7 separate regions of the Homo sapiens genome follow, and regions 1, 2, 3, 4, 5 and 7 are each linked to region 6. The links are contacts of gene promoters, found by promoter capture Hi-C in blood cells and fetal thymus (Javierre and others, 2016). All regions are on one chromosome and are shown on one strand. The core of a region is centred on a gene start or on the middle of the fragment in contact, and the rest is flanking DNA. Distances in the headings are between cores, read along the strand shown.

The links. Contacts are between HindIII fragments. The CHiCAGO score rates a contact against its expected background, and 5 or more counts as called.
Region 1: a fragment that was not itself captured here is called in contact with the fragment with the promoter of TNPO1 in region 6 in 7 of 17 cell types (M2 macrophages, M0 macrophages, M1 macrophages and 4 more); the score reaches 19.0 in M2 macrophages.
Region 2: a fragment that was not itself captured here is called in contact with the fragment with the promoter of TNPO1 in region 6 in 2 of 17 cell types (M0 macrophages and M2 macrophages); the score reaches 6.7 in M0 macrophages.
Region 3: a fragment that was not itself captured here is called in contact with the fragment with the promoter of TNPO1 in region 6 in 4 of 17 cell types (total CD4 T cells, M0 macrophages, total B cells and 1 more); the score reaches 7.1 in total CD4 T cells.
Region 4: a fragment that was not itself captured here is called in contact with the fragment with the promoter of TNPO1 in region 6 in 2 of 17 cell types (M2 macrophages and M0 macrophages); the score reaches 6.2 in M2 macrophages.
Region 5: a fragment that was not itself captured here is called in contact with the fragment with the promoter of TNPO1 in region 6 in 3 of 17 cell types (M2 macrophages, M0 macrophages and M1 macrophages); the score reaches 7.8 in M2 macrophages.
Region 7: a contact is called between a fragment that was not itself captured here and the fragment with the promoter of TNPO1 in region 6, in 3 of 17 cell types (M2 macrophages, endothelial precursors and M0 macrophages). The highest score is 8.4, in M2 macrophages.

What each region holds. Positions count from the first base shown.
Region 1 is chr5:72,350,222-72,353,415 of GRCh38, reverse strand. PTCD2 (pentatricopeptide repeat domain 2) reads right to left here. Exons shown (of 10, transcript NM_024754.5): 9 at 662-775. Among named protein-coding and RNA genes, the nearest start is that of PTCD2, 31 kb to the right of the region's middle. The HindIII fragment of the contact is 2,403 bases long and covers 583-2,985 here.
Region 2 is chr5:72,419,604-72,422,982 of GRCh38, reverse strand. No RefSeq gene overlaps it. Among named protein-coding and RNA genes, the nearest start is that of ZNF366, 86 kb to the left of the region's middle. The HindIII fragment of the contact is 465 bases long and covers 1,145-1,609 here.
Region 3 is chr5:72,328,329-72,331,602 of GRCh38, reverse strand. It overlaps PTCD2 (pentatricopeptide repeat domain 2), which reads right to left. Exons shown (of 10, transcript NM_024754.5): 4 at 228-345. Among named protein-coding and RNA genes, the nearest start is that of PTCD2, 9.6 kb to the right of the region's middle. The HindIII fragment of the contact is 1,413 bases long and covers 840-2,252 here.
Region 4 is chr5:72,498,876-72,502,266 of GRCh38, reverse strand. The region is part of intron 1 of ZNF366 (zinc finger protein 366); the gene reads left to right. Among named protein-coding and RNA genes, the nearest start is that of ZNF366, 6.8 kb to the left of the region's middle. The HindIII fragment of the contact is 4,706 bases long and covers 1-3,391 here.
Region 5 is chr5:72,398,842-72,402,147 of GRCh38, reverse strand. No RefSeq gene overlaps it. Among named protein-coding and RNA genes, the nearest start is that of PTCD2, 80 kb to the right of the region's middle. The HindIII fragment of the contact is 2,201 bases long and covers 862-3,062 here.
Region 6 is chr5:72,815,055-72,818,496 of GRCh38, reverse strand. It overlaps TNPO1 (transportin 1), which reads right to left and starts at 1,836. Exons shown (of 25, transcript NM_002270.4): 1 at 1,745-1,836. The coding sequence starts at 1,759. TNPO1-DT (TNPO1 divergent transcript) reads left to right here and starts at 1,949. Exons shown (of 9, transcript NR_186518.1): 1 at 1,949-2,344. RefSeq lists enhancers at 1,060-1,109, 2,190-2,269 and silencers at 1,570-1,789, 1,830-1,929. The HindIII fragment of the contact is 3,194 bases long and covers 856-3,442 here.
Region 7 is chr5:72,444,673-72,448,066 of GRCh38, reverse strand. It overlaps ZNF366 (zinc finger protein 366), which reads left to right. Exons shown (of 5, transcript NM_152625.3): 4 at 650-824. Among named protein-coding and RNA genes, the nearest start is that of ZNF366, 61 kb to the left of the region's middle. The HindIII fragment of the contact is 3,136 bases long and covers 414-3,394 here.

The DNA of each region.
Region 1 (3,194 bases), core at 535-3,034, 470 kb after region 6:
ATGGTCTGTCTTTTCATTTGTACAGAAGATTCTTTTTATTTTTTAAGATGAGAGATACTATATCCTACTGTTTGCTGACAAGAATGACCCACAGGGAAGGGGATACTGATGATAGCCAAAAGAGTGAGTCAACTTCTGGACTGATGCTGTGGAGTGGGTCAGAGAGGATGGGATCCAGTGCATGACTGAAGAGGCTGGTGTGAGAGATGTATCCAGTCATCATGGGTATATAGGGCAAGGGGCCAGAGGCTCTCTATGTAGCAGTCATGCTTTTCTGATTACTTCTATTTTCTCCAAGAAACAAGAAATACAGTGATCAACTGAGAGTGAAAAGTGAGGAGAAGGTATTGAAGGCTTGAGGGAAAAGGAAAAAGGTGTAAAATCGTCATCTAGAAGAAAAAGAGAGCCAGGGCCCATGAATACAATGTGGAGAAAAGAATAAGGTAAAAGGGAAAAGTTTCCTAGAATTTCAGAGGATATATTCTGTTGGAAGAAAAAAAAATCTTTGCACATATACATGGAAGTCTTAAAACAGGAACAACAGAGAAGCTGCCATATTTGGCAATTTCTTTAAGGTAAGCTTTAGAATTGAGAAATTAGTGGACATTTTTAAGAGTGTCCTTTCACTTTTAAATGATTTCTGCAGCACTTGCATACTCACCACTTCCTCCGAGAACACATGTCTTTTCACAAATTTTGATAAATTTCCTTCTGCAGCATTTTTTAGAGTCTTTATCAGGTTTTCCAACATATTTGACTGGATATGGATTATAATCTGAATATTAAGAAGACACAAGCAAAACCAAGACTGAGTGAGTGTCTCAATGCTGAGAAATGTACCTGGTTAGATAAGCCTTCATTTATAGGCACCTACCCTGCTTTGATCCTACTTCCTAATTTATTTGCTTACACAAGTTCAAAAACGTGCTTTAAATGTACACTTACGAGCCAAAATGTGCTTTCCAATAGTTAATCAAAAACTACAACTTTGCCTGTAATCCCAGCACTTTGGGAGGCCAAGGTGGGCAGATCACGAGGTCAAGAGATAGAGACCATTCTGGCCAACATGGTGAAACCCCATCTCTACTAAAAATACAAAAATTAGCCGAGAGTGGTGACATGAACCTGTAATCCCAGCTACTTGGGAGGCTGAGGCAGGAGAATCACTTGAACCTGAGAGGCGGAGGTTGCAGTGAGACGAGATTGCGGCACTGCACTGCAGCCTGGCAACAGAGCAAGACTCCATCTCAAAAAAATAAAATAAAATACTACAACTTCAAAACTTGTTTACGGGTAACACTGGAGAGGGCAGAGATTTTGGTGTCTGGATACTCGGGCTGAAATCTAGACACTGGCAAGTACCAGCTAAGTGACTCTGGACTGGTACTTAATCTTTCAATTTAAATGCCCTCATTTGTAAAATGGGGAAAATAGATTTAGATCTCACATTTTGGGTTTTATGAACATTAAATAAAATACCAGTATACAGAAGATACTCAATGAACAAAAATACTGGTTTCCTCCTTTCTACATCCTCTAGATTCAGAGGATATGACAATCAATCTCATAAGACTAGTGATATGGTTTGGCTTTGTGTCCCCACCCAAATTTCATCTCGAATGATAATCTCCAGTGTCGGGGGAGGGACATGGTGGGAGGTGATTGGATCATGGGGGCAGTTTCCCCCATGCTGTTCTCATGATAGTCAGTGTGTTCTCATGAAAACTGATGGTTTTATAAGTGGCAGTTGCCCCTGCTCTCTCCCTTTCCTGCTGCCTTGTGAAGAAGACACTTGCTTCTCCTTCGCCTTCCCCCATGACTGTATTTCCTGAGGCCTCCCCAGCCATGTGATACTGTGAGTCAATTAAACTTCTTTCCTTTATAAATTACCCAATCTCTGGCAATTCTTTATAGCAGTGTGAAAATGGATAACAGTAACTGGCTAGGGGCAAATGGTACCTTCAGCGTTTTCTGTTTTTAGGAAGTTGCAGGCACACAGGTTACTGCAGGCACAGAGTGGAAGCTGGCTGGAATGTTAATGAGGCACTCCTATTTACGCTATCTATTAATGAACTTTCAAAACTGGGTACTGTAGTGTGCTTTCGGAATGATACTACCACCTATCTTCCACCAACTTGTGCACAACTATCTTGTGCAACTAACACAAGAAAAAAGAACACATCTCCCCCCAATTACCAATATTTACTAGTATAATTCAAGAAGAAGTTTAAAGAAAGTGAGAATAACTGAGAACTCACCAACCAATGTTACAACCACTGTTTATAATTTGATGTATAAATCTTCCAAATATATTAACTTATCCCCAAAATTTGATTCTACTTTTGGTCAATTACTACACAACAGACATTTATTTCCTCATAGCATTAATATTAGAAAAAAGAAACCTCATTTTTAACACATACATAGCAATTCATCACGGAAATATACCATACTTTATTATACTGAACAATGTGCACATATGTACTTTTAAAAACTGGTAATGTCTTAGACTTGATTCCCAGAAGTAAAATTACCAAGTCAAAGCATAGAGACATTTTTAAGGCTCTTGATCCTTACAAAGATAGTTTTCCTGGAAGAGATTTACCTTTTTTATATTAAACCAGCTATGTTTTCTTACCAGTCTACTTGGCAACATTTTGCATTTGTTGAGTAACTTATCAGGATGAGGGGTTGTCTTTGGTTCGGAAGAACAGAATGAAATGATCCCAGGTAAACTAAATACAAAGAACCCAATTTAAATTCAGTGTTCTAAAGCCCAGGCAAAATCACGAGCACACCCTTTTTGGGAGACAACTTTCCATGCGTCTCTCAAATTTCTGCATGCCTTGAGAGCAAAAGCACTGACTGCTTTTATTCCAGACTATCTTTTCAAGGATGTTTGTGGACAACAAACACAGTGTTGCATCCAAAGCAAAGGACAGGCATGCTTACTGGCCATTATAAGAGATTTGGGTTTCCTAAGCTTAGGGTTCCTCTCTTGAAAGCAACTTCCTATGTGTGCAAGAGGCACATAGAGCTTTTCATGTCTCCCCACAGGAACTGGGGCTCAGGAAACTGATGCAAAGATGCTAATATTCTGGCTACTGCTACATAATAAATTGTCCTTTATTTCTCTGTGTCTTGTATACTCCACTAGCATCCGTGAAACTGGGGCAGGCTAACTCATTAGCTTA
Region 2 (3,379 bases), core at 128-2,627, 400 kb after region 6:
TATACAAAAAGTTTATGGCCTCAAATAAATCAGCAGTTTACAAATGGATAACTCATTTTAAGAAGGGATGGGACCGTGTTGAAGATGAAGCCAGCAGTGGCAGACCATCCACATCAATTTGCAAAAAAAAAAAAAAATCATCTTGTTCTTGCCATAATTGACGAGGGCCAACAATTAAGTGCCCTAATTGAACAGGGCTGATAATAACAGCTGAAATAATGGCCAACACCACAAACATCTCAACTGGTTCAGCTTATACATGTGACTGAAGAATTAAAATTGAACAAACTTTCCATTCAATGAGTGCCAAAACTGTTGTGCCCAGATCAGCTGAAACAAGAGCAGAGCTTTCAATGGATATTTTAAACAAGTGGGATCAAGATCCTGAAGCATTTCTTTGAAGAACTGTAACAGAAAATGAAACATGGCTTTACCAGGACAATCCTGAAGACAAAGCCCAATCAGAGCAATGGCTACCAAGAGTGGCCCAGTCAAGAGCAAAGGTCATGGCAACAGTGTTTTGGGATGCTCAACTCACTTAGCTGTTGACTTTCTGGAGAGCCAAATAACAACAGTGTCTGCTTATTATGAGAGTGCTCGAGAAAGCCAAAGCTTTAGCAGAAACACACACACACAAACACACGCCTGGGAAAGCTTCACTGGAGAGTCCTTCTTTACCACAACAATGCTCCTGCTCATTCATCTCATCAAACATGGGCAATTTTGTAAAAGTTTTGATGGAAAATCTTTAGGCATCCACCTTACAGTCCTGATTTGGCTCTTTCTGACTTCTCTTTGTTTCCTAATCTTAAAAAAAATTTTTTAAAGGGCACCCATTTTTATTCTGTTAAATATATAAATTAGACTTCATTGACATGGTTACATTTCCAGGGCCCTCAGTTCTTTAAGGATGGACTAAATGGCTGGTATCATGGCTTACAAAAGCGTCTTGACCTTGATGGAGCTTATGTTGAGACATAAAGTTTATATTTTGTAATTTTTATCTTTCAATTTTGTTTTTCCATGAACTTTTGAAATCCTCTTTTATTAGCACCAGGACAGATTAATTCTTGCTGAATAAACTCCTGGAGCCACCCTGGTTCTGACTGTTGTATAGTCTGATTCTGACCATGAGCTTTAAGCTTCTTGATAATCCCTCCAACAAATTCCATTTTTGTTTACCGTAGCCATAGTCTGTTTCTGCTGCTACTAACCTAAGAACCTTATTGAATGATATCCATACACTCTCCATTGTGTCCAGAAGAAGACAGAAAGCAGAATGAGGCATCTGAGATTTCAAATATTTAAGAGAGAGATAGGTATTTTAATACAGCTAGAGCCTTTATATAAAAGGAGAAGTGGCCTAAGAGTCTATAAAAAAATCTGAAGATATTATTTTTAAAAAATGATCTTGGGGTAAAAGAAAACAGACAGGAAGGTAAGGAAGCAAATGAGTGGCTAAGGCCACTTCAGTGGAATCAGATTGTAAAAGATCACACACACAAGATCAAAAAGTAGTACCTGACTAGGAGAAAAAAGAAAGATTGGTGGAGAGGAGTCGAAATTATAGCCAGAAGGCTGAAGCCAAGAAAAAAAATTAATCAAAGCTTATGAAAAAATCTAGAGGCATCAAAATGGCTTTTGTTGGATACAACCAGAGAGAAAATGGCCGGAACTGTGTAATGAGGCTCAAGTTCTAAAGCTAATGGAAGATGGTGAGTAGAACTTCTTTACAGCTCTATTTTGCTTCTGTCTTCTCTATGAAAATGAGAAAGCTTCAAAACCTGAAGGTGTAGAACAAACGTGGTTGCACTGAAGTCCAAGATAGGGGCCAAGATAGTAAGAGAACAAGGAGCCTTCGTGAAAGACTTTGATTCTTCAGACTTGGATACATTCTAGCTCAAGACATAAGAACTAATAAAAATAATTGTAGAATCGCTGCCATTAATTTTTGGAAAATCAAAAAGAATAGAAAAAGTGTCTGAAAATTGGAGATGGACAAATGGCTTTATTTCTGAAAGCCGGTAAGGCAATACAATTAAAAAAATTATATATAATAGAGACAGGGTCGTACTACGTTGCCCAGGCTGGTCTTGAACTCCTGGGCACAAGTGATCCTCCTGCCTCAGCCTCCCAAAGTGCTGGAATTACAGACATGAGCCACCACGCCTGGCCAGTAGTACGATATTGAAGTTTGGAATCTACAAATAGTCAATTTAATATGAAGCCCGGTTATTTGGGAATTACAAGAGTTAGATTACCATATCTGTAGGCTGCATATTATCGTATCTGTAGGCTGCATATTATCGTAACTTAAACAGATAAGGCCCCTCACATTATCCGTCTGAATAACATAGAAAACTGGACTAAGAGTGCAAGTACACGAATTTTTTTTTTTTTTTTTTTTTTTTTTTTTTTTTTTTTTTTTTTTTTTTTGAGACGTAGTCTCGCTTTGTCTCCCAGGCTGGAGTGCAGTGGCGCGATCTCGGCTGGGCTGACTGCAAGCTCCGCCTCCCAGGTACACGCCATTCTCCTGCCTCAGCCTCCCGAGTAGCTGGGTCTACAGGCACCCGCCACTACGCCCGGCAAATATTTTGTATTTTTTAGTAGAGACGGGGTTTCACTGTGTTAGCCCGGATGGTCTCGATATCCTGACCTCGTGATCCACCCGCCTCGGCCTCCCAGAGTGCTGGGATTACAGGCAGGAGCCACCGCGTCCGGCCCGTGAATTTCTAACTGGTTAAAAACTGCTACACAAGAAGTGCTGAATTGTGAATCAGTAGTCTTCCGGAGGGAAAAATATTGGGCTATGAGGCGGGATTCTGTTTTTGTTTATACCATACGATATTTTATCAACAACATGCACAAAAACACAGAAGCCACTTTGTGGCTGACTCAGAGCTAGAAGAAATAGTAAATACTCTAGATGTAAGACTGAATCTAAAAATTACTGCTATGGGTCATTTATGTGTGGAAATTTGTTTATGGATAATTTAGAAAGATATTTATTAAGATTCTAGAAAGATATACACCGAAGTATTCACAATGATTAACTGTGGGTGAGTGGCATAATAAAATTTTAATGTTATTTTTTGTTTATCTGCACTTCATAGTATTTTTGTAATGAGCAAATATTCCTTTCATTAAAAAACAATAAAAAAGATTTATTTCAAAAAGAAAAAAATTACTTTGGCTGATGCAATATAAAAACAAACCAGATGAAAGTTAGCATGGATAACTATAAAGTCCTGTGTCAAGGTAGGAAAAAAAAGTACTTACGTAAGCATAAGATGCAGGCAAGAAGGGTCTGAAAACAGTTTATTTGAAAAATATTTGGAAGTCTTGGACAAAAAGTGAATACACACCAAAGGATAAACTA
Region 3 (3,274 bases), core at 297-2,796, 490 kb after region 6:
TAGGATCATCTGTACCTATACCTCCTCCACACTTGTTCTATATTACTCCACCCCCCTTCACACAAACTGACTGCAAGGAAACTTAAAAATGCAGAGATGTGCTCATTCAGCCCCAGCAGCCTTTCTTTGAAAATCTAACCCAGGAATAATGTACATAGAAGACATGCCTTTTCCAATATCACCAAAAACACACACATTGGCAGAGAAAACAATTAGGAAACAATAACCTGGTCTTTCATGAGCTCCACTGCAGATTCCTCGAGATCCAACTCGTAACACAACCTCACAAAAAGCGGTCCAAATTTATACTCCCCCAAAGTGAAATTTTTGTTCTCTGCATGGTACCTGGTAATGAAAATGATTCAATGAGCCAAAAGGTAGGACACAGGAAAAAGGACAGACACAGACTATGGCAGGTACTGTGCCAGGTACTGGGACACAACAGAGAACGAAGTCCTCTCACAGTCTGGAGGGGGAGAAATGGAGATTTCAGACAATCAGGAATCCTGGAGTGCAGAAGTACACCAATCATTTAAACAAGTAAACAGAATTTACAGCAGACTGACATAAAATAAAAGAAACAGAGGAAAAACGTATGTTGTAATCATTCTCTAAATTTAGAAACAACCCCTAGACTGAGTGTGAGCACACCTTAAGAAACAGCAGGAGTCTAGTAGCATCTGTAAGTGCATCAGAATGGGCCCCACCCAGAGGAGAACAAGGGAAAGAAGTGGGGGTGATGCTCTGTGCTCCTGGAGGCTGGTTTCATCCTCATATAGGATGGCAGACAACCAACAGTCACATTTACAATTTACAGCAACTCTCTGCTTTTCTAAGCTTGAGAAAGGTACACCTGGGCTATGATCACCTGGCTAAACAAATTAAATGTGGTTTTGAATGTTTAAGTTTTAGGAAAAGGCTAATCTCAAAGATAATGATGTCTTCTATGTGGCTTGAGATTTCTACAGGCAGCCAGTCTGCCAGTCAGAACTGCATATCACTACTGTAAATTTACTTTCAATAACCAATTCTTTTTGCTTTAGACACCAAGAGGACAATATATGACAAAATCAACACCTCATGATTACACATAAATCAGATTTTAGAAAGACTTATTCATTAAGAATCTTCATATTCATATTTCTTTCAGATTTAGATTCATATAATGAGTGAATCTAAAATACCTTGGGGAGAAGCGCTGATGATAAAACAGGATACTTTTTACCTTCTGCTAAAAATCATCGAGGAGTCAGAGTAGTATTACGCTAGTCTATTCTAAATGCATATACTACAATGATACCATAATAGAATGATGAGGTGTACTTTGATACATTTCATTATCCACTTATAGAAGTTACAAATAGGCCGGGCACAGTGGCTCACACCTGTAATCCCAGCACTTTGGGAGGCCGAACCAGGCGGATTATGAGGTCAGGAGATCGAGACCATCTTGGCTAACATGGTGAAACCCCGTCTCTACTGAAAATACAAAAAAAAAAAAAATTAGCCGGGCGTGGTGGCGGGCGCCTGTAATCCCTGCTACTTGGGAGGCTGAGGCAGGAGAATGGCATGAACCCAGGAGGCGGAGCTTGCAGTGAGCCGAGATAGCACCCCTGCACTCCAGCCTGGGCGACAGAGCGAGACTCCATCTCAAAAAAAAAAAAAAGAAGTTATAAATAATATTCATTGCTTCATTACAACACTTATAAATTAAGTTTTTGGAAGGCAATATAGGATAGTGGTTAAGGGTTTTCAGGCTCTGAATCCAAACTGATCATTCAAATCCTAGCTCTTCTACTTGTGTGATGATGAGCAAATTAATTAACTACTCTGTGCTTCCGTCTCCTCATCTGTAAAATGGAAGGAAGAAGAGAACCCAACTCAGTTTTTTTGTGAAGATTAAATGAGATGATGTGCCTGGCACACAAGTCTTCAACATATAAATCTTTATAAAACGTAAGGCATGCTAAGGAAAACATCTTCAAAAATCAACATATTTCAGTAAATATTCTCATGAGAAACTTGTGCCAGATTAAAAGCAAAAGAAAGCAAAAAAAAAGTTTCTGATTTGACATTAACATGCTAAATGACATTCACATTAATAAAAGTGCTAGAAAGTCACTGAGATAATGAATTGCCTTCTGGACAAGAAATGTTCAAGAGGGTCTAAAATCCCTCAATAAACCAAACAGCATTTGGTCAACATAACGAGGGTATTAAGATGCTCCCCATTTTTGGCTCAATAAAAAGCTTATGTTTCAGCTCGTGACTCTCCTTTCCCAGCCACGGGCTGCCTGACTCAGGGAGAAAGAGAACATGTTGGTGGAGCCTTGGATCTACCCATCTTTCCACTTGTCCGGCTGTCTACAAGTAGAGAGGGAAAAGGTCAGCAACTGGGTAGAGATTTATTAGCATCAGTAAAGGAACTAAGTCATACTTTGAATATTTATGATAAAAATAAGAGTAGAAAGAGTGTTCAGGATATTTATCTCATTTTACTACTCTTATAAACATTGAATAGCTTTGTGTAGTAAAATGAGAGGAAAACATGCCAAAGGGAAATGATTTAACTTTGTGAAACTGAAATACGGAATTAAGTTTGTAGATACAGTGTGACTTTAAATTAGCATAACACTTTTGGAAAATAATCTGACAGTTATATATTGATAAACTTTAAAAAGTTCATACCCCCTGATCCCCAAAAGGAAACAAAGAGTAAGTTTTATGCAGCGAGTTTCTCATCATGACATTATTTATACTGGTGAAATATTAGAAAAAACTTCAATGTCCAACAATATGGGCATAGTTGATGAAAATACCTAACATATAATAAATACTGTATTGCCATTAAACTATGATTCCTAAGGATATGATTAACATGAAAATATTTATATTTAGAAAATAATTACACAGCAATAACTATAACAATGTAAAGCAAAATCTACCAAAACAATGAAATCTTTACATCTGTGAAAAAAAAAAATGCAAAAATATTAACAGTGGTTTCTTAGATGGGAGCAACAGGCCCCAAAGATGGCTGCCATCAATTTCTTCCCTCTCTGTATGTGCATATGGCTCCATCCATCCAGAGGTAGAATCCTTTTCCCCTCCCCTTGACTTTGGTCTGGCCAGGCAACTTGCCTTAACCAAGAGAAGCCATGCCAATTCTGGGCAGCTCTATCATGCCTGGCAGCTCCCATCTGGGCTGTGGGCCAGTGCAGCTCAAACCAACAAATGAATAATGAGGCACTCCAGAAAGACAGGGAGAGGCCAC
Region 4 (3,391 bases), core at 621-3,120, 320 kb after region 6:
TCCAGCGTTATGTGTAATACATAAGTTCACAAGAAAGGAAGCAGCATGAGGACAGGGACTTTGTTTTGTCCACTGCTGTCTGCCCAGGGCCTACAATAGCACAGAGCCTGTCATAGATGCACAATAAATATTTGTTAAATAGATGAGTTAATGAATCAGTGGGCTGTAGAATGAAAGATGCTATCTTTATACAATGCCAAATGAAGCCATTAATTTGAAAAAAAAAAGTTAGTCAAACTTTTCTGGAGTCTAGACAATGCCAAACTGCCAGCTTGATGGATTTATCCCTCACCTGAATTGACTGGAACTATATGGGCTTGTTCTGCTGTTGTGTGCATGGGGCTGCTACATGTGTATTAAAATGTCGTCTTGGCAAGCACCCCCACCCATTTGTTCATGGGAAATTAACATTTATCAGATAGATACACAGAAAAGACTGTTGTTGCATTTTATTTTCCATTTATTTTCTGGGCAGATGATGGGTTTGCAAATTGTTTTTGGCGAGACAGAGAACGGTCATTTGTTTTTCCTTGACTAAAAGAGCTGTGAGCCAGGATCCAGCCTTGTAGGAAGTGTTCAGCTCTCTGGTTTGTTATAGGCAAAGGCTGTGAATCCAAGCTAAAGGAATGCCACTTGGGCTGAATTGACAAAACACCATGGGGTAAATTCAGGGAGAGAAATGTGATACCCTTGTTGAGCACAATACCCTTTCCTTTCTTTAATTCAAGCCAATTGAAGAAGGCCAAAACCACTGGATCGAGTCAGTTTTATACTTATTTGGCAAATTTAAAGTGGCAAATCTAAACACCTAGTAACAAAAGTTGGGATTTTGGATGATGCTTTTTACATTTAACAACATTGGGGTTCTAGGTGTCTGTTAATTGGAGTAGAAACTGAAAAGGCACTCTCTATTAACATTGATAGAATCTCTCTTTAGTGTCAAGTACCAGGGCACACAAAGAGAATACTGGGCAATTCTCCTATATTCCTTTGATAGATTATGGCCCCACTCTGACCTCATTCTTTGATGGCCACTGATACTAAATGGGAGAGTGATTTACCAACAACGGCACTGCCACCACCAGCGCCAACAATTATGGAGGAGTCATTACTAGGTTTGGGGCCTCCTCAGAACTTTAGATACTTCATTTCACTTACCCCATTCTCAAGTACGTGCCTTATTCTCCTCATCTTAGAGCTGAAGAAAGGCAACCACCTTGTTTAACAGATAAACTACAGAAAGTACGTGATTTGCTCAAGGTCAGTAAATTAATGTTGCTTGTTTTCAGTTTCCTTATAAGGAAAAAGTGTCATCTGTAGCTAATAATTTCTTTAAAACAAATATGTATCCTTTAAGGTAGTAGCCTTCAAATGGGGTCCAAAGACCAACACCATGGCACCACCTAGGAGCTTGTTAGAAATGCAGAATAAATCCCAGCTCCACTGCAGATCAACTGAATCAGAATCAGCATTTTAACAAGATCTCCAAGTGACCAGTTGCACATTCAAGTCTGAGCAGCACTGCCTTATGGTTTTGGACTGTTGCACACAGATTGATCAGGGAATGTAGGACTCTATTCCAAGGAGTTACAAAGCCATTTGTTAACTTTGACCTTGTCCAAGACAACATACCTCCCTATTAAATAGTGGCATTACTGGACAAGTCTCCAATCTATTCAGCTCTGAGCAACAGTAGGCATGATTTCTGTGATCTCTCCCATGAAGTTAACTCCATATCATGGGATCCTAGCACTCTCAGAAAGGGCGAGGGTATTATTTTCAGGTGCTTTCTGAGCACCAATCATCAGAGTTACCTGGGGCAGATTTCTAGGCCTTTCCCCAGATCTAACAAAGCTGAAGAGGGGACCAAGGCTCTGCTTATTATTCAAGCTGCTGGCTCAGGGTAAGGAAGCCCCCAGGGAGGGTAGTGATGAGTATTTCAGGCAGATTACCCTAAAAAATAGTTTAGCTTTTTTCAGTAGCTTGAAAAAAACATTTAAAACCATAGTGCACACATTAGGGCACCGCAGAGTTCTTCCAGGAAGAAAACGTACTCTGCCGCTTTCTTCCTTTGAATGCTTGAGAATAAGGATGAGAAATCTTGCTGTCTGCCCTGTGTCTTCCTCAGGGAGAAAGGGAGGACCCGCTTCTCCAGCATCACAGCCAAAGAGGAGACGCCAGTCCACACGCCTCCCTCTTCCCAGTGAGAAAACTCTGTGGAAAGAATCCTTAGAGTTTCCTTTGCACTGGGGACTCACCGTTCTCTCTTGGAACAGAAATCAAGAGGAGACTATTGTTGGAGGGGTGGGGGAAGGAAGCAGCGCCGGAAGAGAGCGAGGGAGAGGACCGGAATCGCCTCTGGTTTGCTGAAGCCTGGACAAAATGGGGCCTCTGCCTGGATGGAGCCCATGGCATCTCTCCCGTGACTGAGGCCCTCTGGCCACCTTCCATGGAAAGTGCAGGGAGATGAGGAATTTCAGGTTTTCAGCGCTGTTTAATGGAACGCCTACCTCCATAGTGTCCACCACTTGTTTCTTGCTGTTTTTCTAGTTCAGGCATTTTCTTTCCCACGACACGGTGGAATTTCCTCCTCTCACCCCTACTTCCAGAGAACTTTTTCAGTTGTTTTTTTCTTTTTTAAGTACAAAGAAGGGTCTTCTAGCATTATCCTAAAAAATCTATATATTGAACATTTTTAGGGTACCAAAGAGTTCTATGCTTAATCTATAAAGGCGGGGTTGGTGACAGAGCGAGACTCCGTCTCAAAAAAAAAAAAAAAAAAAAAAAGGCAGGATTCCTGAAGTGCTAGAATTTGAATTCTTAGGGTGAGGAATATGTGAAAAGTTCTGAAAGGTTGCTGGCAGGCATATCCAGAATCTCACCTCCTACCTGGCTTTTCAGAGATCTGGGCAAGGAGGGACTATTCCCAGCATCGTCTTTCTTGATATTCAGGAAACAATCAGTGATGCAGCAGGCAAGCAGGCGTTTCCTCCAACATGGTCTGCAGCCCTCCTAGCACCCAGTGATTTCATGGCACAATCACCTGTCTCTGGCTGGGGAGAAGTCTCCAGGGGCAGAGAGTTCTTCTGGTGGCAGCCTGGGCCTCAGATCTAAATGGGGATGTTTGTGAAGGAATAGAGACACCAGTTTTGTGGGTAACAAAGTTCTGCTCAAAACTGCATCATTTTGCAGAAGGCAGTCCCATTCCATGTGTCTTCACATCCTCCATATGTTCAGACACATCCCACTATTTAGAATGACTGACATTGACTCTTTTCCCCCTTGAGTCTCCTAGGAGAGAAATTTCAGCATCACATCTTTAATACATGCAGTTGGGAAGGACATTTAATGGTGAGAAAATCCCATTTCAGAAGGATTAGGACATAAAATG
Region 5 (3,306 bases), core at 713-3,212, 420 kb after region 6:
TGAGATCAAATAAGAAACATTAGAATCAATTTCTCAACTCTAGCTGAAGATGCAAAGCAAGAGTTTATAAGCCTGGTGAGAGAATGAACACATTTTCTTTACATTATAAATTTCTCTAGTTGAGGGTGAAAGTTTTCAGGAGGAATACCAAGTAGTTCAGTCATTTGACATCTAAAGCAGAGCTTGTCTCCTGCATATGAACAAAACCACTCATCTTGAGCTATTTCCCTAAAGGTGGGCTACTTCTTAGCCAGCTGAGATACATCAGCTACTGAAATTCTCAATCAAGGAATCCAAGACAAGAAATGACTCAGGGTCCTTCTTTATTGGTGTCAGTCCAATTTTACTTAATGCTAGACCTGTACTAATTTGCACTATAGAATTCTTTTTAAAAAAATAATTTTTATTTTTGAGACAGGGTCTTGCTGTGTTGCCAAGGCTGGGATGTGGTGACACGATCTTTGCTCACGGTAACCTCCACCTACCAGGCTCAAATGATTCTCCCACATCAGCCTCCTGAGTAGCTGGGACTACAGGTGTATGCCACCATGCCTGGCTAGTTTTTTGTATTTTTTGTGGAGATGAGGTCTTGCCATGTTGCCCAGGCTGGTCTTGAATTCTTGGACTCAAGCAATTTGCCTGCCTTGGCCTCCCAAAGTGCTGGGACTACAGGCATGAGCCACCATGCCTGGTCTGCACTATAGATTTCTGAAATTAAACTCTAGAATTAAGCAAATCTGATGCATACCATGATGATGAAGACAAATACAGAAGACAATACAATTTCTGTGTAATTCAGAAATGTGAGTGATAGATTTATTTATTCACTCATTCATTTATTCAATAAATATCCAATAAGCTTCTGGTCAGGGGGTCACTGTACAACCCTAGGGCATACCATTCATAGATATCTCCATGCTGGGGAAACAAGGGATACTTCCTGTAACAGCCCAACAGGTTATCCTTGCCTGCTGCCCAGATAAAGCCAATTTGTCAAGACAGGGGAATTGCAATAGAGAAAGAGTTTAATTCGCACAGAGCTAGCTGACTGGGTGACAGGAGTTTTATTACTCAAATCAGTATCTCCAAAAATTCAGAGGCTAGGGTTTACAAGGATAATTTGGTGGGAAGGGGAATTGGTGCTGCTGATTGTTTGGGGATGCAATCATAAGAGTGTGAAAAACAGTCCTTGCACACTGAGTCCACTTCTGGATGGGGGCCATAGGACCAGTTGAGTCAAGAGCTGTGGGTCCGGGTGGGGACATTTGCAGAAATGCAAAAGCCTGAAAAGACATCTCAAAAGGCCAGTCTTAGATTCTATAATAGTGATGTTATCTGCAGGAATAACTGGGGGAAGGTGCAAACCTTGTGACCTCCAGAATAATGGCTGGTAATCATTTATGCCTACATTTTAGCAGATTTCAGGCTCTTCTCATCTTCCTAACCTGGTAGTCTTCCATTAGTTTTGCAAATGCAGTTTAGTTTGGGGAAGGGCAGTTATTATTTAAACTATAAACTACATTTCTCCCAAAGTTAGCTTGGGCCAAGCCCAGGAATGACTAAGGGCAGTTTGGAGGTTAAAGGCAAGATGGAGATTGGTTATATCAGATCTCTTTCACTGTCATACTTTTCTCACTGTTATAATTTTTGCAAGGTGGTTTCATCCCTGCCTTCAAGGGCCTCATGGTGCAGTGTGGGAAGGGACAAGCAGTCAGGCCATGCAATACAGAATGGAAGGACCCGAGATGGCATGGTTAATAACTGTGATCCTGGGATCTCACAGGTGGGACACTTATCTCAGCCTTAGGGGATCAACAGAAGCTACCTGGGAGAGGCTGTACCTGAGAAGACTCTGAGAGAACAGACAGGACCTAGTCAGGCTAAGAAGAGGGAGAACAGTCCAGGGCGAGGATTCAGCCTGTGTAAATTCAAGAAAAAGAGGGAGACAAGGTGGGATAGCTAGAGGAAGCCATTTTACACCAGCTCAGTAGACAGAGGAAAGGAGATTTGCCAAGAAAGAAGAGGAGAGAAGGGGAAGGGCGGGGTAGGAAGGAAAGGGGAGGGAAAGGAAGGAGAGAGCAAGGGGTCAGAGAAAAGGATTTAGCCAGAGCCCAAGGCTGCCCTGGTTCTCACCCTCCGCACAGCCTAGTGATCAGATTCCCCTGAGTTTTCAGCCTGTGAGTCCTTTTCCTGCATTAGCATGGGACCACACTGTTCCTTACAATCAAAAGAATCGTAATCCTAACAGGGGCTCTTGATATTCAACAGGCTGAAATGTAAGTAGGCCTTTTCATCTTTTAGCATGTAGTAAATAAGCATGTGGTTTTGAACAGAGTAATTCCAACTTTGCCATTTTGATAGTCTGAGTACAAACCACTCCTGAGGATTGGAGGTGCAAACAGCTTGTTTTGCCACATTATTTCCCATCGCTTTACATGAAGCGATGTAAATCCCTTTTGCTACTTTGCCTTACATCTGCCCACTTGAAAAAATTCTTGCTCTGAATTCCTCCCTTCTAAGTCTTTGCTGCTTAAGAGTTGAGCACCCAACCAGTATTTTCTCTAGTCATCTCATAGTTGTTATCCCATAGAGAAAATACTGGTTGTGGATTTTTCAACAGATTTTAACCAGATTTCAACTTAACAATGCAACATATTCTAGTGGGAAAAGTGCTACAAAATAAGTTTTAAAATGACAAAGCAAGCCTTATATTTTCCCAAATATCATTTCCTTTATCTTCATAATTCCTATACTTTAAAAATCAAAATATGAAAACCTAGTTCAGTGAATAATAACTGCCTAACAACAATAACAAAAATAGCTTAACCCCATTTTGAAGAATTCATTCTTTTCTCTCCATTTTAGCACTTCCTAGTCAATCATCATCTATTAATTTTTTTCACACCACATTCAGAAACCGATAACACAGTTAGTGAACGTAAACATCTGTAGTCTACCTCTTTTACAGTTTTGTTCCTCATTTTTCTTCCCACTTCCCCTTAAGGAGGATTTTTCTCTCTTTCCTAAATGGGCTCAAACTCCTAATTCATCCTTTAAAAGCTTTTGCAGGATCTTATTTTCTCATGTACAATGCCTTTAGGGCTTTAATCCCAACACAAAGATCTTCAAAAATACAGCGGCTATTTTTGAAAGGAAAAAAGAAATTCTAAGAAGTCTGGTTGCAATTGTTAGACCGTTCTGCAAACAGTTATAACCATAAAGTAAAACAGAATAAATTTCACAGATGGTACTACTTCGTAAACATCAATGGTTCTCATTTTCTTAGCCAGACCCTCTAAATATCAT
Region 6 (3,442 bases), core at 587-3,086:
TCTTCTAAATACAGATGTTTACATTTCAATGTAGTAGCTCATTTACAACATTTAGAAAAACTGAGTTCATGGAATGGCTTTAAAATTATAAATAAGCAAAACTACAGTCATAAAAACAATGAATACAATAAGAAATGTTGATATTGGAAAAGCTTACAACTAGAATCATGTATTTTTACAAAAATCTTATTCTGCTCACATTATATAATGGTAATAAAGCCACTGAGAGTTGAGGTAGAAGTGCAAACAAGATTTTTATAGATATTTCAGTGGGAGGAATTTAATAATTCCTGACTAGGAGAAAGATGCAGCCACATCAAGGGTGGCGGCCCCTTTTAGGAAAAAGAAAACAGAACACTAGTACTTCATTAGGCTCACGTTAAATTGCATGAAGTAAAAATCGTACTGCCAAGCTAGTATAAATTTATGCACTGCATAGCTAGAGACTAAAAAAGATATCTGCACCTACAAACTATTGTTTCCCTTTTGTGGTTGCTAATTTTCATCCTGGCACAGCCTTCTCTAGGAACAACTACGGTGCCAGGTAAGGTGAAAGTGGAAAACAGATCCTTTCCCAAAAAACGGAACTTTCCCCTTTTCCACTAAACATAGCTTCTTCACCACTCTAACATGAAAGCTTTGATATAACAGGGAAACTTAAAAAGCTGCAGGAACTTTTGTTATTCTAAAAGTGAGTAGTACGTCAGGACAGCCATTTTACAACCTTCATTTCCAAACACCTATTACACCATACATCTTGCAATTTTAAAAGTATCTTTTCTTTAGGGTAAAAAAAGTACCACTTACACATTCATCATTTAAGTCATTACTGTTTCAAAGGACAGTTATTAAGCTTCTTAATACAGCTGTCAAAATCAATTTGTAGATAGCCTCCAATTTCAAATTTCTACATTTACATCTACTGATAGACCATCCTGATTAGCGATTAAGATAACAGACTTAAACTCTAAGCAATCCTTGCAAAATCCAGTTGATTTTTAAAATCAGTAAGCAACACGCGATCATTTTTAAAGAAAGTCATTCCGAAAATAGCTTGATTGTGGTGGCCAATCTGCTCCTCAGCAGCTGTTCCCTGTTGCTTGTACGCATGGGAGTGGAGGTAGAAGGGCAAAACCCACAAGCCCACGCAAAACTCGTACAGTCACAAACATTATGTAAACATGTCGTGAGGCCAAGAGGCCCCAAGGAGAAAGAACCGCCGGGAGGAAGAGAACGGCAAGCTGCATGTAAGGACGATGGGCGCTGTGTGCGGACGCAGGAGACCCGGGCAGAGGGGCCCAGGGCGGGACAAAGACTGGCCCATCTCGGGCAGCGCCGGCCAGCGCCCAGAACCAGTGAAAGGCAGCCGTCCCGGGGCAGCCGACTGCAGCACTCAAGGGCCCTCAAACGCCACAGCTTAACAGGCGAGGCAAACGCTCCCCTGAATGTAAGACCCTTCCCTTCCCGCCCCTTGTAACGGGCTCCTGCCGCCCCTAACGGGATCCTCGGACGCTTGAGGAGCCGCCGTCGCCTGCTCCCTACCCGGGTCCCGCAGGGCGCCTGGGCGGGCAGCTGTTGGGGTTAGAACCGCGCCGCCGCTGCCTCTCGGCTTCAAACGGCCGGGCAGGCGCCGAGAGAGCGGGCGAGCCCGGCGTCTCTCCCGTAGGCGCGTCAGGCAGCTCGGCGCTCCCAGCCTCCGTTCCCGCCCCTGCAGTTCGGGGCCGCGCACCCTCACGCCACCTACCCGGTCCCACACCATCCCAGACGCCTCGGGCGCTCGGGCCTTCGGCCGAAGCGGCACTGCCTCCTGTCCGGGGCCTGAAATGGCTGCGGAACAAAGAGAATCTGGGCTTCACCGAGCGCCGGTCCGATTGGCCGGGGGGCGGAGCCCGCGGCGGGAACATTCGGCGGCGGTCGCCTTGGCAACGGCGGCGGGGCTAGGAAAATTGCTGCCTGGGTCGGCTGGGCCTGTGGGCCTGCGTCCGACAGCGCGCGGCCGTGCTTTCTAAGCGGGCTCGGCAGCACCAGACTTCACCGGCCCGGCGCGGGGCTCACAAGTGCTCGCACTCCCTGCGGCCGGCGCGCTGACCGGAGCCTCTGGGTCTCGCACGCAGCAGCTGCAGACGCTGCCCGGCGCGGTGGGGCTGTGAGCAAAACGGCCCGCCGGTGTGGTTGCCCAGACTGTGCTGGGCCCTCCTAGGTGGATGGCCCTGCCCCAGCCTAACTTCTGTACCCCAGCATAACCTCCAAAGTAACAGCCGTGCCCTGGGAGCCTGTTCAACACTGAACATATCCCACAATAACACTGTTCCAGCGTCGCTGGTAAAAAGCAGAAATGGCTTCGGTAGGTAGACGCCGGTGGATGGCTGCCCGCTTAGAACAAGATAGGCTTTTGACGTATGTTGTATCTGGCGTATAAACTACTATGTAATTAGAATTCAGTGATTTATAAAATGTTTACGCCTCCAGGTGTTCAATCCTATAAAACTGTAGTTTCTTGCTCTTAGAAATAACAAGCCTTTCTCTCCCTAACCTGCCATCATGAGAAATTAAAATGTCCTGTATTTTCTGTACGGCAAATGATTCAAAATGGGAGTGGTGGACGTTTTTATACCCAACTGCAACAAGGGTAATGAGATAAATATCAGTTTCCTTCCCTCAGATTATTCTTATATGTAAAATTTACTGTATAAAAATACTTAAAATTTGCATAGCTAGCTGATTTTTATTTTCTAAGGTGATGATGCCCGTGATAATATTCCTCACATGATCAGTGTGAGTAGAAATACCAGCAGTTCCGACTATCTTACTGGAAGTGCTGTATATATTTTGAAAATGTGTGACAGTTGTTGCCTTCCTGTCATAGTTTAGGTAAAATTACAGTACATAATACTAGAAAATGTCTAAATTTTTACTAAGGTAATTTATTTGTTCTTCTAAACGTGTTAACAATTTTCATTTGAATTACAGTCATTTTGCAGGAACAACTAGTTTATTTAACTTAAAATTTGAGACTAAAAGTACCATTTTTTAATCATTGGGAAATTGAACTTAGCAAGGGAAAATATAGATAACTAAAATATTCATGATTTCAACATGTTATAATATTAATTTGATAGTAATTGGATACAGTAGTGTATATCAAAAAGAGCCCCCCCCCCCAAATAGGAGTAGATTACCAAGAAAAAAATGTAATATAAACTTTTCTGAATGGTAGTTTATCTGCAGGAAAATATACCCAGAAAAAGTATATTTATCCAAATAACAAATGGCTTATTTCTGCATTTGAAAAGTTACATCGTGGACTAGGATCTATACAAATCAGAAGATGTGTAGTATTTGCATTCTACTTTGCTAAAGGAAAAAACACAAATATTTCTAAAATCCAAAAGATTAGCAAATAATGACAGATGTAAATACTACTGACTAAGCAATTAGTAGG
Region 7 (3,394 bases), core at 732-3,231, 370 kb after region 6:
AATACAGTGTACTCTTTTATTCTCTTCTGCCTGATACAGAAGAGTTGTGTTGGGAGACGCACAGTATGGTCTGGTGGTTGACCATGTGTTCTCTGGCATCTGATGGCCTGAGTTCATTAACCCAGCTTCAGCACCCACCACTTGTATGCCTCGGCCAAGTGACGTAAGTCCTCAGATTGTGCGTCTGTAAAATGGGGGTGGTAATAGCAACCATCTCATATGATTGGTGTGAGAATTAAATAAGATATTCCATGGTAGACTTAGAACAATGCCTTCCATATTGCAAATGCTGCATAAATATTAAACACATAATCACATTCTTATTATTAAAGGAGGAACACTTGTAGCCACTGCTTTTTAGATCAGCTCTTCTCCTTTTCAAAAGCTTTTATTCAAAAGAAGCTTTACAAGCTTTGATATTTTTACTTTGAATTTAAAGATCTCTGAAATCCAGGAACAAATCTCATGAATCTACCCCTACTTGCTCCACCTCTGAGGCTCCTTCCTGATTTCCTTATGGACATTTTCCTTGCAAGCAGATTAAAATGTCAATGTCCAAACAAAGTAGAAACGGTATCTGTGCTCCAGGGGCCTGGATGGGGCTTCACTCGGGCAGAGTAACCTGTGTTCTCATCCCCATCTTCAACAGCTTTGTGGGAAGGAATTCAACCGGATGCACAACCTGATGGGCCACATGCACCTGCACTCAGACAGCAAACCCTTCAAGTGCCTCTATTGCCCAAGCAAATTCACCCTGAAGGGGAACCTGACACGCCACATGAAAGTCAAGCATGGAGTCATGGAGCGGGGCCTTCATTCCCAAGGTAATCACTCTTCTGGGAAGCCCTGCAAGTCAGTCCAGTGGACAACAAATGGGAGCTGAATTCGTTTTATGGGGCATTACCTTGAGGGTTATTCTTGTCAAGACCACAGCAGAGTAGCAAGAGTAACCTTATAATGTTACTAGAAAAAATCTGATGCTAATTTCTGACATAGTAAGTACAAGTGAATTAGAGTAAATTGGACTATCATCATGATGCCAGTCGGTACCATTATTTGTTCCTTTGTTCCAGACACTACATCAGGTGGCTTGTCGCTAATATTCATGGCAACTCCAAGCTGGAAGAACTTCTATTATTTCTATTTTACAGCGGGGGAATGAAGGCTTCAAGAGATCAATTTGCCCAAAGTTGCTCTGCTGAAAAGTGGCAGAGTCAAGATTTGAACCTAGGCCTTTCTGACTGTGCAGCCTTTATTGTATCCTCTTCATGACTTTGCTGTGAATGGGCACGCAATTTTTCTTTCCTTTTTAGAAAACAGATGTGCAAGCCTTACTGTTAGCAGAAGTATGTTGGTAGCAGGCTAGGTCTTTCCTACTTGTTCACAATCAGACACACCCAAGGACAATTTTCCTGCTTGGTAGGTAGGGCTGATTGGCCCATATGCAGAGCAGGGGTTTACACCTCCCCCACTGAATCCTCACTGAACTAATGAAAAGTTCTCACTGCCTTTACCTTCTCAGTCCCAGAGCCCTTGGCAGTGAAGAGTTTATGTTCCAGATCTACTCAATTCAGCAGGGTTGCTCCTTAATCGTCTAATCAACCAGCCCTTCAATAAACAGGCAATAAATGCACTTGTGTCCAAAGCAGTGAACTACACGCAGCGGCAGATACTAGGGGAAGGAGACCATCTGCCCTCTAGGATGTCTGTGTTTGCAAAATCATATTAACAGCTTTTCGGTCACTAGTATGATCAAAGCACAGGGTGAGACACCTTAGGGACATTATTGCTTGGCCCTACAATGCCGTGAAAGAGACTGTGTTATTCTCATTTTATATAAGAGGAGACCAAGGCCTAGAGGTGTTAGATAAACTGCTCAAGGTCAAACAGCAAGTCTGAAGACAGAACTGGGATTCCAGCCCAATTTCTGAATCAAGCCAGTGCTCACTACCCTAGGCAGAAACATGGGGTGATTTGTTTATGTGCTGTTTCACTCACCTCCTTACAAAAGAGATGGTGGAGTGGACAAGCATATTCATAAACAGATAGACATATGCACACACAGTGTGAAACAAAATGATTGTAGCTTTCAGGTTTTTTACAGTACCCGCTGAGTTTCTAGTGACTCCTGGATAACAGGGAGCTGTGGTCACAAAAAAAGGGCTGGAGTTTGTGCAAAAGCCCTGAAAAAAATTGTAGTTAAAACAAAAACAATTTTATTTTTCCTGCAAAAGTTTTTCCCCTGAATTATTCACTGAATCTCTAGTTGCCTGAGCCACTTCCCCAAGCTAGACCTGGATTTTTCCGGAAGCGGTGAGGTTTGCTCTGTCATCAGGACGGGAGACATACAAGTCAGTGAGGAGACCACACTCCAACTGAAAGCATGACCTGGTCGCCATGATTTACCCCACACTGCTGCTCAAATCCTAAAAGACACCTAACAGCTCTGTTGTTCTGGAAAAATAACTATCAGAGGGTTGCTTTGAAAAATTTTAACAGACTTTCAACAATCTCAGTGTTTTCATCTACAAAGGGTATTAGCTTTTATTTTTCACTCTAGCTTTTGAAATGGCTCAAAAATCATTAAAAAGATCTTTCCTGTCCCCTGACAGGATTAAAGATACAGACAGCTTCATTGCCTGACAGCATCAAAAAGTGAACAAAATTGGACATCATCGCCCCTACCCTTCTTTTTTCACCCCCTCCCAGAAGCCTGGTCTGGCTGCACCCCAGGACCCCTCCCTTCCTGTTGCTCCTCCTCAGTGTCCCGCCCATCCCTGGAGGCCTGACTATTGGCTCATCAAAGGTCAAAGCCTTAAAGACAGGATCAAATGAAACTGCCATGCTGAAAAGCCCATCCCTACAGCCCTGCAAACTGAAGGCAAAAGTGAGGCCTCCTTGAATCACTGTGCCCAACAGCAGGGACACTGGAGGTCAGACACAGGGGCTGTGTGAGCTCCTCAGAGGACCTCTTCATGCCATCTCTACCCTGTCTATGAGTAGGCTGTTGGCAAAGGGGCCACAGTCAGGGGTGGTGTCTGCTGCCCCAAATAGGTTCTCTTTGTTTTGTTCAAGATGAAAATGGCTTTATTATTGATTTACTTTTGTTTATGATAAAACATATGCTCATGGTAAAAAATAAAACAATAATACATTAAAAGTGAAAAGAGAGTGTTCATTAATTTAAGATTTTGACATCCCTCCTTCCAAATATTTTTTAATAGAAATGGCTAGCTAGATAAAATCAGGTCTGCACTATAAATAAATACACACACACATACTTACATATATTTTTGTTTTTACTTAAAATACATAGCAAATATCTTTTTGTGATCATTAGTAGGTCTCTACATCCCCTATGCATAATTTGCTATATGGATATATCATTATTTAT